3 separate regions of the Homo sapiens genome follow, and regions 1 and 2 are each linked to region 3. Evidence: promoter capture Hi-C in 16 types of primary human blood cells and fetal thymus (Javierre and others, 2016). All regions are on one chromosome and are shown on one strand. The core of a region is centred on a gene start or on the middle of the fragment in contact, and the rest is flanking DNA. Distances in the headings are between cores, read along the strand shown.

Region 1 (4,026 bases), core at 2-2,501, 480 kb before region 3:
GTCAGGCTTACTTTGGGCCTCCTGGGGACCTTGGGGAAGTGACACATGTCCTTGGTCTAAGCTTCTCCATGTGTAAAATGGGTCTGACACTCCCTGTGAGAATTACAAGCATGTAAAGCCAGTATTTAATTCCTATGGCGTGCAGAAATGTTGAGGTCCCCGTCGCTGACTTCAGGGCTTCAGACACTGGAACCCCTGACCCCGCCCTTACACCCTTTGATTTCCAGGGACACCAGCTCCGTGGGGACTCCCAGCTCATCTTCTCAGCTTCCTCCCTGACATCTCCATCCACTCCCTCTGCCGCCCGCTCATCCCCCACAGTCCCTCTTTCCAACCCCTCCGCCTCCGCTTCAGGTCTGCGTCTCTCCCCGCCAGAGCCACATCCCAACACAAACCGAACCCCGCCTCTCCTGTGCAGGGGACCCTCCCGCGGGGGCCTCTGCTCCTCAGCTGGCCTTCGAGGCCCCTGTCCCCTCAAATCCGGGGACCCCTGGCCTTCCGCCCCTTCTGCGGCGCTGACAGCCCGCGATTCGCCTCCTCAAGATTCGTCTCAAGTGCCAGCGTGCACCTGCACCCGTCCGCCTCGGGCGCGCGGTGGTCCCCGGCCCCTGTCCCCGCCGTCGCCGGCCACGGGGAGGGGGAAGCCCGCCTCGAGCGCCCTCTGGGGGACCGACCGCGAGCGGAGGCGCTGGGCGTCGGGAAGTGCGCACCCAAGTCCGGGGCCCGGCCGGGATGGATCTCCGGCGCGCGTGGGTCGGGACGGCGCGGCGCGGGGACCCCGCGGGGAAGCGAGTAAGGGCGCGAAGGATCCGGGCTCAGCGCGCAGCCCGGCAGGGCCCGGCTCCGAGGACGCGGAGCCACCGACGGAGACGCGGATTCAGGGGCCGGGAGAGCTACCCCTGCGCCGAGGCGCGGCCCGGCCGCCCTGGCCCTGACCCGGCTGCGGTCCCCGCCCGCCCCTTCCTCATCCCGAGGTCCCGCGCCCCAAGCGCCGTGCTCCCCTCAGGCGTCCGCGCACCAGGGCCACCGTGTCCCCCGCCCGTACCCGGCGGAGCGGTCTCAGCGCCCGCCCCAGGTGCGCGGTACCCCCTCCCCGGCCAGCCCCACGCTCGGGCGGGTGGCCCGTTCGCCGCGCTCACCGTCCAGGAGTCCCAGGCAGAGCCACAGTCGCAGGCACAGCGCGGCGCCCCGCTGCATCTCCGGCCGCTGCGCGTGGGTCCGACCCGAGCGGCCGCGGCTCGGGGCTGAAAGTGTCCGCGCGGGCGCCGGCTGGCCTGGGGCGGGGCGGGGCGGGGCGGGGGCCGGAGGCGGGCCCGGGATTCAGGCCGCTCCCCGCGCCCCCCTCCCCCCGTCCCTCCCAGCCCGCCGCGGGGCGTCCGGTGCACCCGAGCAGTGCGCGCTCCGCACCACAGGGTCCGGGCCCCCTCCTGGGCGGCTCCGGGCGCGGGGACGCGGGTAACGCAGACGGTCTCGCGATGCGCTCCGGAGGTGATGGAGCCTGGTGGGCAAAGGGGAGCAAAATGCGGCACGCGCTCTTTTCCGTCCTTTCTTTCCATCGGTAAAATCTAGACTAAACAAGAAAGCAATCCTTGTAAAAATAGTATGTTACATCTTTGAAAATAGTGGCACCAGCCGGCGTAACATAGGGAGACCCAGTCTCAAAAATAAACAAGCAAATAAATAAAATAATACGCCGAGCTTGGTTGTGCGCGCCTGTAATCCCAGCTTCTCGGGGGGGCTGAGGCAGGAGAATCGCTTGAACCCGGGAGAAGGAGGTTGCAGTGAGCCGAGATCGCGCCACTGCACTCCAGTCTGGGAGCCAAAAAAAAAAAAAAAAAAGCAAAAACAAAACCCGTTCAGCAGTGTTTACCTGCACAGTGTCGACGGACAGTGTCGACGGAAGCCGCACCCGTGAGCGGGACACCCGGGATGACCGACCCCCTCCCTGCAGGCCTGGCCTCCTAGCTTTAGAACTCCCCCAGATGTTTTGTTCTCAGCTCAATCAGGACCCGCCCCCACCTTTTTAATAAAGCGACACTTTGCTTTTGCTTTCTGACTTGGCAACCCTCTTACAGACTTCCGTTCTCTTTTCAGTTTGTCTCTAGAATTTTCCTGTTTAATAATGAAGCCCATGACCATGACTGTCTCAACCTCCTTCCCTGCTTTTCGTTTCATTCACATTTTCCATCCCCCCACCCCCGCCCCCCAAAGCCCTTTCATCCTCGCCAAAAAGCAAGAGTAGATTTTCAATAACCACTACCAGCTCTCTCCAATCCAGGTAAGAAGTGGCTATATTATTAAGCTGGAATCACAAATCAGTGCGGATAGTGTAGATAATTTAACAAATAAGGTTGGGGAAACTAGGTAACCAAGCGATACATGAAGTTAGGTATTTATCAATCATATATTGATTTTTTTTAGCTTTGAAAGATTATGAGATGTAACACACTTATGGAAAGTACATAATATATCAGCATATTATAAACCTGAATTTTAAAGCAACAAATACCTGTGTTTCCATTCTCCAGGCCAAGGGATGTAGAATGACATCCCCACATCCCCTCACTTCCCATCACAAACCCCTCACCAACCCCAGAAGATGCCCACTACCCTGGCATTATCATTTCCCTGCTTTTGTTTATCATTTTATCATCAAAATATATGTTTTGCTTTTTTTTTCAGAATGTACTTTTTTTTTTTTTTCTCAAAGTCTCTCTTTTGTTGCCCAGGCTGGAGTGCAGTGGGACGATCTCACTGCACTGCAATGCAACCTCTGCCTCCTGGGGTCAAGCAATTCTCCCGCCTCAGCCTCCTGAGTAGCTGTGATTCCAGGCACCCGGCACCATGCCCGGCTAATTTTTGTATTTTTAGTAGAGATGGGGGTTTAACCATGTTGACCAGGCTGGTCTCAAACTCCTGACTTCCTGATCTGCCAACCTCAGCCTCCCAAAGTGCTGGGATTATAGGCATGAGCCACTGTGCCCCGCCCAGAATATACTTGTTTTTTTTTTGTTGTTGTTGTTGTTTTAGACAGGGTCTCACTTTGTCACCCAGGCTGGAGTGCAGTGACATGATATCTGCTCACCGCAGCCTCAGCACCCCCCGGGCTCAAATGATCCTCCCACCTCAGCCTCCCAAGTAGCTGGGACCACAGATGTGCGCCACCACACCCAGTGACTTTTTTGCATAGCTGGGTTTTCGCCACGTTGCCCAAGCTGGTCTTGAACTCCTGGGCTCAAGTGATCCACCTGCCTCAGCCTCCCAGAATGCTGGGATGACAGGGATGAGCCGCCGCATCCAGCCAGAATGTGCTTTTAAAATTTTAAAGTATACTTAGAGGACATAAGTGCAGATTTCTTAATTCATATATTGTGTACAGGTGAAGTCTGGGCTTTTAGTGTACGCGTCACCTGTACAGTGGACACTCTACCCAAAAGGTGATTTTTCAGTCCTTACCTCTTGCCCTCCCTCCCTGCTTTTGGAGTCTCCAGTGTCTATTACTCCTCTCTGTGTGTTTGTGTCCCTACAGTTTAGCTCACATTTTGCTTGTTGTTTTTTTTTTCCACTTTATCTCAGTGCCTTCATACCATTTATATTCTTTTGCTCAACACCATTAGTGAGATTCATCTATATTGCTGTGATGATCTATACTTTGCTCATTTTCGTAACTGCATAGTTTTCCACAGTAGGATACACCACAATTTGTCCATCTACTATTAATGGAAGTTTGAGTGGTTACCAGTTTCCAACTTTTGCCACAACACTCTTGTATGTGTTTCCTGGTGTACACATGCTGTCTTCAACTTTGGTAGCCAGTGCCAAGTATTTTTTCAAGTGATTTGTACCATTTTGCATGATCATGGCAGCGTAAGCAGTTACCGCTGCCGCACACCTTTACCCACAGTATTGTCAGTTTTGGTTTTTAAAATGTGGCCATTCTAGTTGGTTTGCATTGGCATCTCATTGCGGTTTCATTAGCTATTTTTTTTTTTTTTTTTTTTTTTTGAGACAGAGCCTTGCTCTGTT
Region 2 (4,284 bases), core at 1,763-4,262, 350 kb before region 3:
AATACAAAAATTAGCCAGTCTTGGTGGCACATGCCTGTAATCCCAGCTATTCAGGAAGCTGAGGCAGGAGAATCGTTTGAACCCGGGAGGTGGAGGTTGCAGTGAGCTGAGATCGCACCACCTGCACTCTAGCCTGGGTGACAGAGCAAGACTCCATCTCAAAAAAAAAAAAAAAAGAAAAAGAAAAAAATGATAGAGGCTTCCTTATACAAATATGGATACATGAATATGCTATTTGCAATGAGGCGTAAATTGATAGCTTGAAAAAAGAGCAAGAGTAAAATGAAATGCCCCAGAGACCCCAGGAGGTGGAAAGTACAACAGGACAAGGTGTGTGTGCTGTTATGACATAGAGATGCATGTACTGGCTTTCATCCATGGTTGCTGGTTGGTAACTCCCACATTCCTTGTTGCTGGCCATTTTTTCTTTTTCCTTTTTTTCAGCTGAGGGAATTTAGCCAATCCAGAGGCCTTGTTCCCCATAATTTGGAACTTTTCTCTGGATTTGATCAAGTCGGGTAGAGTTGGTCAAACCTAATGGGAAAGAGACCAAAACAACAAAAACAGAAACTAACAAATTTTTAAAAAGCAGTTAATCAAAACAAACAAATGATCACACAATTTATATTATTACTGAGCACTCTAATGGTAAGGAGGAATTAAGACCAACTGGTTGTTCATCTTAACTTTAGTGATTAAGGAGAATTTCCAAGACAAAACCCCCATTCAGCTACTTACCTAGGAATGAGACCTGGCTAAAGACTGTGCTCTACTGAGGGAGAAGACCACCCCTCATATTGTCTCATGCCCAATTTCTGCCTCCAAAGAAAGAAGAAGTAAAAATGAAAAGGCAGAAATGAAATCCACAAGCAGACAGCCCGGCGCCACACCCCGGGCCTGGTAGTTAAAGATCGAGCCCCGGCCTACTCGATTATGTTATCTGTAGATTCCAGACATTGTATGGAAAAGCACTGTGAAAACCCTTGTCCTGTTCTGTTCCAATCTGATTACCGGTGCATGCAGCCCCCAGTCGTGTACCCGCTGGTTGCACAATCGATCACGACCCTCTCACGTGGACCCCCTTAGAGTTGTGAGCCCTTAAAAGGGACAAGAATTGCTCACTAGGGGAGCTCAGCTCTTCAGACAGGAGTCTTGCCAATGCTCCTGGCTGAATAAACCCCTTCCTTCTTTAACTCGGTGTCTGAGGAGTTTTGTCTGCGGCTGGTCCTGCTACACTACTATCCTAGAAGTAGGAAAAAACTCAAACTTGCTTTCCCTGTTGGAAGTGGGCTGAAATTCCACAAAGGAGTTGCCTGCACCCCATTATCATGGAAGCAGGAAAACTCTCCCTCCTTGTTGAAAGTGAATAAAACTCCAGAAAAAGAGTTTCACAGCAGAATAATCCTTAAACCTCAACCAGATTTTGGAAGATCAGGGATTCTCTGGAGACAGGAGCTCCCAGGGCTCAGCAAATTGTCCAACTGATTTGAGCAATAAAGGTAGCTCAAGCTGGCACCAAGTACCCGTAGGAGATTTGCCAAAGGTCAGGGGTAGCTCCACTCAGAATCCCTTCATGGTTACCATGTAAACCAAACAGTATCTGAGACAGAGCTCAGTCAATTTAGAAGTTTATTTTGCCAATGTTAAGGACATGCACCCAGGACCCAAGTCTGTGCCTTTCTCCAAAGATGATTTTGAGGGCTTCAATATTTAAAGGAAAAAGGGCAGGTATTGCAGAAAGAGGAAGACATTTTTAAAAGGTGTGGGTAGATAAAAGGCAAGTGGTTGCCTTCTTTTGAGCCTTTGATCAGCCGTCCACATGTAAGGGAGGCAAAGGAATAGTCAGCTAGCTGGGGTGAATCTGCACTTTCACATAAGATAAAGTAGGGCAGAGGAAGCAATCACATATGCATTTGTCTCAGGTGAGCAAAGAAATGGCTGAGTTCTTTCCTTTGTCCCATCACTGCGAAGATAGACTATCAATTTACATTGTCAGGGTGGAATTCAACAGAACACTTTTAGGGTAAAGATCTTGCCCACAAGGGCAAATTGTGAGGGAGGCATGTAGCTTTTTTATTTGTGAATGGAAGGCAGGTTTGTGTGACACAGTTCCCAGCTTGATCTGTCCCTTCGGCTTAGTGATTTTGAGGTCCCAAGTTGTATTTTCTCTTCACAATATGTGTACGTATATTGGTTTATGTATTGGTTTTCAACCCAGGGTTCCTGGCTCATAATTCCCACAGCCCTTGTTACAGTCTTTTGTTACAGTGTTGGGTGAGTCAGGCCTCAGGGGCAGGACTCTGACCTTCCACTGCCCTGAGGCAGGACTCAAGGCCCTCCCATGAGAGGGTCCCATCCTATACCCTGGGGGAAGGAATGCTAAAGTCATGAAGCTTCCATAAAAAACCAAGGGGACTGGGCCGAACACGTGGAGGCCGACAGGAGGGTGAAGAACTCGTCCACATGCCGGGAGGGTGGGGCACCCCAGCTCCACGGCAACAGAAGCTCCTGTGCTTCCAGGCCTCACCCTATGTACCTCTTCGTCTGGCTAATTATCCATATCCTTTAAAATATCCTTCTTAGTAAACTGATTCTCTGTGAGCAACTCCCCCAGATTAATCAAACTCAAAGAGGGGGTTGTGGGAACCCCAACTTGAACCCAGTTGGTCAGAAGTTCTGGAGGCCCCAACATTCGATTGGTGGGGTGGGGCAAGGATGAGTCTTGGGGATGGAGCCCTCAACCTGTGGGATCTGGCACTATCTCCAGGTAGACAGGGTTGGAACTGATTGGAGGACACCTGGCTGACGTCCACCGCTTGGGAGTGGGGAGAGGTCCCCACACGTTTGGTCACAGAAGTCTTCTTCTGTGTAGATGATTGTTGCAGTGTGAGAGCGGAGGGAAAACATGGTTTCAGGAGAGTCTTCCCTCACACTATGTGATTGGAGCAAAAGGACAAGAAAGATGAACTGAAGGACAAAGGAGAATTTAGGGAGAATCAGGGGCATCGGTTCAGCTGAGGGAGGGGCGTTGGAACCACAGCTGCATGCTGTCTAACTGGGGTGGAGAACTGCTAGGGCTTGGCCTGGAGCCAGGCGGGCATCAGGGCAGGCTCCAATTCAAGGGAGCAATATGACAAGGACAGGGAAGTCACACTTGATATTTCAGGTGAGGCCTCACCCAAGATTTTGATTTTTTTTTTTTGAGAGGAGTCTCGCACTGTCTCCCAGGCTGGAGTGCAGCGGTGTGATCTCGGCTCACTGCAAGCTCCGCCTCCCGGGTTCACCCATTCTCCTGCCTCAGCCCCCCGAGTAGCTGGGACTACAGGCGCCCTTCACCACGACCAGCTAATTTTTTGTATTTTTAGTAGAGACGGGGTTTCACCGTGTTAGCCAGGATGGTCTCGATCTCCTGACCTCGTGATCCACCCACCTCAGCCTCCCAAAGTGCTGGGATTACAGGCGAGAGCCACCGCACCCGGCCAGATTTTGATTTTTAAAAACCCAGGTATGAGGCCATCAGGCTCTGTTCTGCAGTTTCAGAACCAACTGGCTTGATTCATTCATAAGGAGGCCGAGGACTCCCAGCTGTCAGTAGAGGGCAGCCGTGCCCAATGAAGACCAAGTTCAGGTCAGAAGCTTGCTCAGCAAGCCAAGAACCAAAGATAGTTAATCTGGGCAGGGCGGTTATGTATGAATTTTATTTTCCTTTTATTTTTCAATGTTTTTAGGTAGTTACACGATAAGCACATATTACTTATATACGAAAAAAGTTATTTAAAAAACAATATTCATTCTTTACCTTTCTATCAAGTGGTACAGAAAATTATACGGTATATATTTGCCGTGTGGCAAAATATTCCTCGTTGGATCATGTCAGTGGAAAGAGTATGGTTCTTCTTTGTATTAGTCTTTCAACTTCCCTGTGAGTTTGAATATTTTCATAATAAAAACTTGAAAAACAGAATATAAAATTGAAAAAAAGTTTTGGAAGGAAAAAATATTCCCATCCTTTAATTCAAGAACATCTACGTAAATAATAGAACCAGTCTCCTAGATGACACTGCTCCCCACCCTTGGATGCTGATGAGTAAATGTTTTAAAATTCTATTCTCAAAATATTTGTTCAAACATTCCATTCTGGTCACATAAAATCTTCCACCGTTTCAAGGACAGAACACAGTATCCGAGAGTTCTGGTTTCTACTGTTGCTCAGCAAACTCCCGCAGAACTCAGCAGCTTAAAATACCCGTTTCACATTGCCCACCATTTGTGAGTCAGAAATTC
Region 3 (4,444 bases), core at 1,049-3,548:
CTGGCTCCCGGAACAGGGTCTGGCACATCTGTTATGAGCTCAGTCAATATTTGTTGAATGCATAAAAATTTTGTTGGCCAAGTACCCTGGCTCACACCTGTAATTCCAAAACTTTGAAAGGCTGAGGCAGAAGGATAGCTCGAGGTAGGAGTTTGAGACCAGCCTGGGCAACATAAACGAGACCTCATCTCTATTCAAAAAACAGAGAAAATTAGCCAGGCTATTGTGGCACACATCTGTAGTCCCAGCTACTCAGGTGGCTGAGGTGGAAGGATCGTTTGAGCCTGAAAGTTCAAGCTGGCAGTGATCTATGTTCACGCCACTGCACTCCAGCCTGGGTGACAGAGCGAGCTTTGTCTCCAAAATAAAAATAAAATAAAACATTACCTGGGCGTGGTGGTGTGCACCTGTAGTTCCAGTTACTTGGAAGACTGAGGCAGATCACTTGAGCCTAGGAATTTGAGGCTGCAGTGAGCTACGATCACACCACTGCACTCCAGCCTGAATGATAGAGCTATGACATTGTGTGATTTGGAGGGGGTTTCTACAGGAGCAAATCTGTTCCCACAGCGACCAAGCACCCTCTCAGCCATATCAACCAGCAAAATACACCAGATGCCCCAGCAGAAGAACGGTCTCCCAGCCTTACCACCATGTTCAGAGGCACCAGCCACTTGTGCCTCTCAGGACACAGACGGCAAGATCCTGTCTCAGAAAAAAAAAATTGTATTATGAAACACAACAGAATTTATTCTTGCCTCTCACTGGCTTATCTTCCTGCTCTCTAATTTCAGACCTTTCCGTTGGGTGTTTAGTTAATGGCTTCACTTTTCTTCCTAGAAACCACAACATAGAAGAAGCCACTGCATCTCTGCAATATTCTCCCCGGCACGGGAGGACCCCGTCCCACATCAGCCCCCTCCTTCCTGCTCCTTCACCTTCGCACTCCCCACACATCTGTCCTTGTCTTCCTGCTGTGGACCATCCTCCACCCCAGGGACCTAGAGCCCAGTCTCCAACCCAGACAGAGGGAGGGGGACGGGAAAAGGGGAGTAGGACACCAAGGAAAGAGAGAGAGGTGGGTCAAAGGAAGAGAACGAGAAGAAAGAGTGAGGAGAAACATCACACCAGAAGACGGATGCCCCTCCAAACACCCACACGAAACAGTTACACCCTGATGGAGGCAGACAGCAGGAGGAAGAGCAAGTGCTGATGAACAAGATAAATGGGGACGTGAACCAGCAATGGGAGCAGGAGCTGCAGGGAAGAGAGAGGGGACGACAGGACAAGACCCTCACTCACCTGTGGGTGGGTCCCTGCAGGGGAACAAACTCAGCAGAGTCACCTGTGGAGGAGTTCCTAGCGTCAGAGCCATGCACTCATCCTCCTGTGTTTGCTCCCACTGGGTCGGGGGACAGGAGGAGCCGCAGCCCCAACCTCCTTCCTCAGCCCGCACCGACTACTCATCGGGTTGTGGAGCCCACGGCACCCTCAGCCTCCAGTGGCCCCTCAGGCTCAGAGAGCAAGGCTCACACAGACCACAGCCTCCTCTCAGAGGGAGAAACAGGCTCAGGGAAGGAGCTGGTGCTGGCAGGAGAGGTGGAGCCAGGAGCAGTGCCCTGAGCCCACCCAGGATTCCCACCTGCCTCCAGGACACCCTGGCTCTGGCCAGGTGGCAGAACCGCCTCCCACTGCCCACACAGGTACTGAACCCAGACACGGGGTGAAGAGGGGAAGCTGACTTCAGACCTCAGCTCCCAGGGGACCCCACAGACTCCAGCCCTGGAAGAGGTGCTCCCAAGATTACAATTAAAAAGACCCACAGAGGGACCTGGGGACAGGAACAGGAGCAGGGCCAGTGGGGACAGCGTGAGGAAACCCAGCTGGGGGAGGAGGAACGCAGGGCAGAGGAATACAGGAATGCGGAGGACATTCTTGGTGCCCTACATTGCCCCCCCACACACACATCAGCACTTCCCAGCGACCTCCAGGGCCCTCATGGGGTCTCCATGTCACAGCTGTCCCTTGGGCCCTCGCTGCACCCCACACCTGTCCTTCACCTGCCCCCATTAAGTCAGCCTACATCACCCGTGACATGCAAAGCACTGGGTGGGGGGCTCTGGACACAGTCCTTGCTCAAGGGGTCTACAGCCTCGTGGGAGGGAAAGAACAGCCCCACCTTCACGAGAGTCGGGTGGAGCCTGGGGGCCTGGTTGGGATCCTCATAAACCTGACAGGCGTTTCTGCAGGGTCAGTGTCTTCGTGGGCTGCTGGGGATGGGGCTGAAGTCCACGGTTCTGATGCTGCCACTGCCTTTTACTCTCAAGAGCATTTCACATCGGAGGATGCATTTTATGGTCACTCTGTGGCTATTTATGTCCCATGGAAGCAGGCCATTTTCTCAGGGGCCAATGTGCTTGAAATCCCCTTGCCACATGGCTCAGACACCAGAGGCGTTTGTTCCTTCTGAATCTCGACTTCCTTGTGTGTCTTTGCTACCACACTTTTGGTGTGTGCCCTCTTCCTGATCCAGCTTCCAGCTATGGCAGGAGTCTGAGGAACATGCAGGCGAGGAGGCCATGAGGGAGACACAGGAAGACCGGGGCAGAGAGAGGTAGACTAGGGAGGAAGGGAATGGCCACCTCGCAGCTGGAGTGGGGCAGGCTGGCTTTTGAGGACTGGACCTGCAGCGTCTCCCACTCCTCTCCCACACCGGCCTTCTCCTCTATCCTCCTATGCACCCAACGCTTTCCACACTCACACTTTTTCTCCAGCCACTTCTCCCCACCGGCACTTCCTCTGTCTTCTTCCTCTGTTACTCTTCAGCCTTATCTAATTCCCCAAGACCGAGCTCAAGCCCACCTCCATTCAGATTCCTCCGGAACTCAATCCACCATGACCTCCGCCGGCCATGGCTTCCTGTCTACACTCTGGCAGCGTATGTCCATGGCCTGCTGACAGCTCTTGTATTGCCTTTTATCGTATTATTCAGGGGGAACTTTTGATCATGTGCAAACAAGGAAACACTTTTATTTTTGTACAGCCACTGCTTTTAAATAAGACATCACAATTCATTCTCCACATCTTCATGACATCTCATGCAGATCAAGAGTTTTCTGGTGACTTTGGGTGGTAAGACGAAGGCTCATTTATATATTCTAAAATCCAGTCCATTGAAAATCAAAATTTGAATCTCACATTCAATTCAGTGTTGGTCCCCTTGACACAGCCTAAATCAAGACTAACTTGGGGCTTGGAGTCCCACAGTAGAGAAGGGAGAAGAGTCTGCTAACAGCAATCATATTATGTGTCCTTTCAGATTTTAAGGGAGGTGGGGATACTCTTTGAAATGTCCGTTTTTCTCAAATAAGTTACTAGGATGTCTGAACTGATTTATTTGGAGAACTGCCCTGCATAAATAGAAGCACTGTCTTTTACATGAGTATCTTAATTTAAAAATGTTTAATCTGGCACGGTGGTGCGTGTCTGTGGTCCCAGCTACTCTGGAGGCTGAGGTGGGAGGATCATTTAAGCCCATGAGGTCAGGGCTGCAGTGAGCTGAGATCACACCCCTGCACTTCAGCCTGGGCAACAGAGCCAGACCCTGTCTCAAAAAAAAAAATTATTGTCTAGGACATTCAAATTTTCAACCTCCCCTAATTTTTGTACTAAAATGAAAGCAGCAGCTGTCACATAAATGTCCAGGAAATGTCATTATTGATGTTTCTCTGTTAAGAATTCTTCTTAAATGCTCATCCTATTATTATGTTTTATTCTTGATATTTTAGAGAAACTTACTGATGTATTTACTGAGGAAACTATGTGATTTCTGAAACTTATTTGTAGATAATCCAGTTGTGAAGGGGAGAGGGAGAGGTGGGTGGGGAGTAGACGGAACGGTGTTGACCCTGAGCTGCCAATTGCCAGCACCGGGTGGTGAGTGCAGAGAAGTTCATTATACGATGCTTCCAGGTTTTAGGTGTGTCTAAAATGCTCTATAACAAGAACCTGGAAGGTCACTCCACACTGGTTGAGTAAACTGTAATGTATCCACATAACAGAGTGCCGTACGACTGTAAAAAGAACATCAAGTGTTTCTTCTTCTACACTGGAGGGATCTTCAGGAGGTAAGGAGGGAAAAAGCATGGTGCAGAACAGAACACAGCCTGCTGCTTCTGCCGTGAGAAAGGAGGAAATCTATGGACAAGGTTGTTTTTTACATTTTCAAAATCAACTATAAAAGGATAATTGCAAACTAATAAATACGGTTCCACATAGCAGGAGGGAAGAAATGTGTGTACGAGACAGAGACAGAAACTAGGTTTTTTTTTTCTTTTAAGAGACAGGGTCTTGCTCTGTGGCCCAGGCTGGAGTGCAGCAGTGCCAACATGGCTCACTGCAGCCTCCAACTCCTGAGGCAAGGGCACTCTCCTGAGCTCCAGAG

The links. Contacts are between HindIII fragments. The CHiCAGO score rates a contact against its expected background, and 5 or more counts as called.
Region 1: the fragment with the promoter of FLT4 here is called in contact with the fragment with the promoter of OR2V1 in region 3 in 2 of 17 cell types (neutrophils and monocytes); the score reaches 5.6 in neutrophils.
Region 2: a fragment that was not itself captured here is called in contact with the fragment with the promoter of OR2V1 in region 3 in 1 of 17 cell types (total B cells); the score reaches 8.9 in total B cells.

Annotation. Positions count from the first base shown.
Region 1 is chr5:180,648,349-180,652,374 of GRCh38, forward strand. FLT4 (fms related receptor tyrosine kinase 4) reads right to left here and starts at 1,252. Exons shown (of 30, transcript NM_182925.5): 1 at 1,140-1,252. The coding sequence starts at 1,197. The HindIII fragment of the contact is 6,264 bases long and covers 60-4,026 here.
Region 2 is chr5:180,781,098-180,785,381 of GRCh38, forward strand. MGAT1 (alpha-1,3-mannosyl-glycoprotein 2-beta-N-acetylglucosaminyltransferase) reads right to left here. Exons shown (of 2, transcript NM_002406.4): 2 at 3,683-4,284. Among named protein-coding and RNA genes, the nearest start is that of MGAT1, 20 kb to the right of the region's middle. RefSeq lists an enhancer at 3,938-4,284. The HindIII fragment of the contact is 1,243 bases long and covers 2,392-3,634 here.
Region 3 is chr5:181,128,871-181,133,314 of GRCh38, forward strand. It overlaps OR2V1 (olfactory receptor family 2 subfamily V member 1), which reads right to left and starts at 2,299. Exons shown (of 4, transcript NM_001258283.2): 1 at 2,180-2,299; 2 at 1,303-1,345; 3 at 650-705. RefSeq lists an enhancer at 1,085-1,586. The HindIII fragment of the contact is 15,941 bases long and covers 1-4,444 here.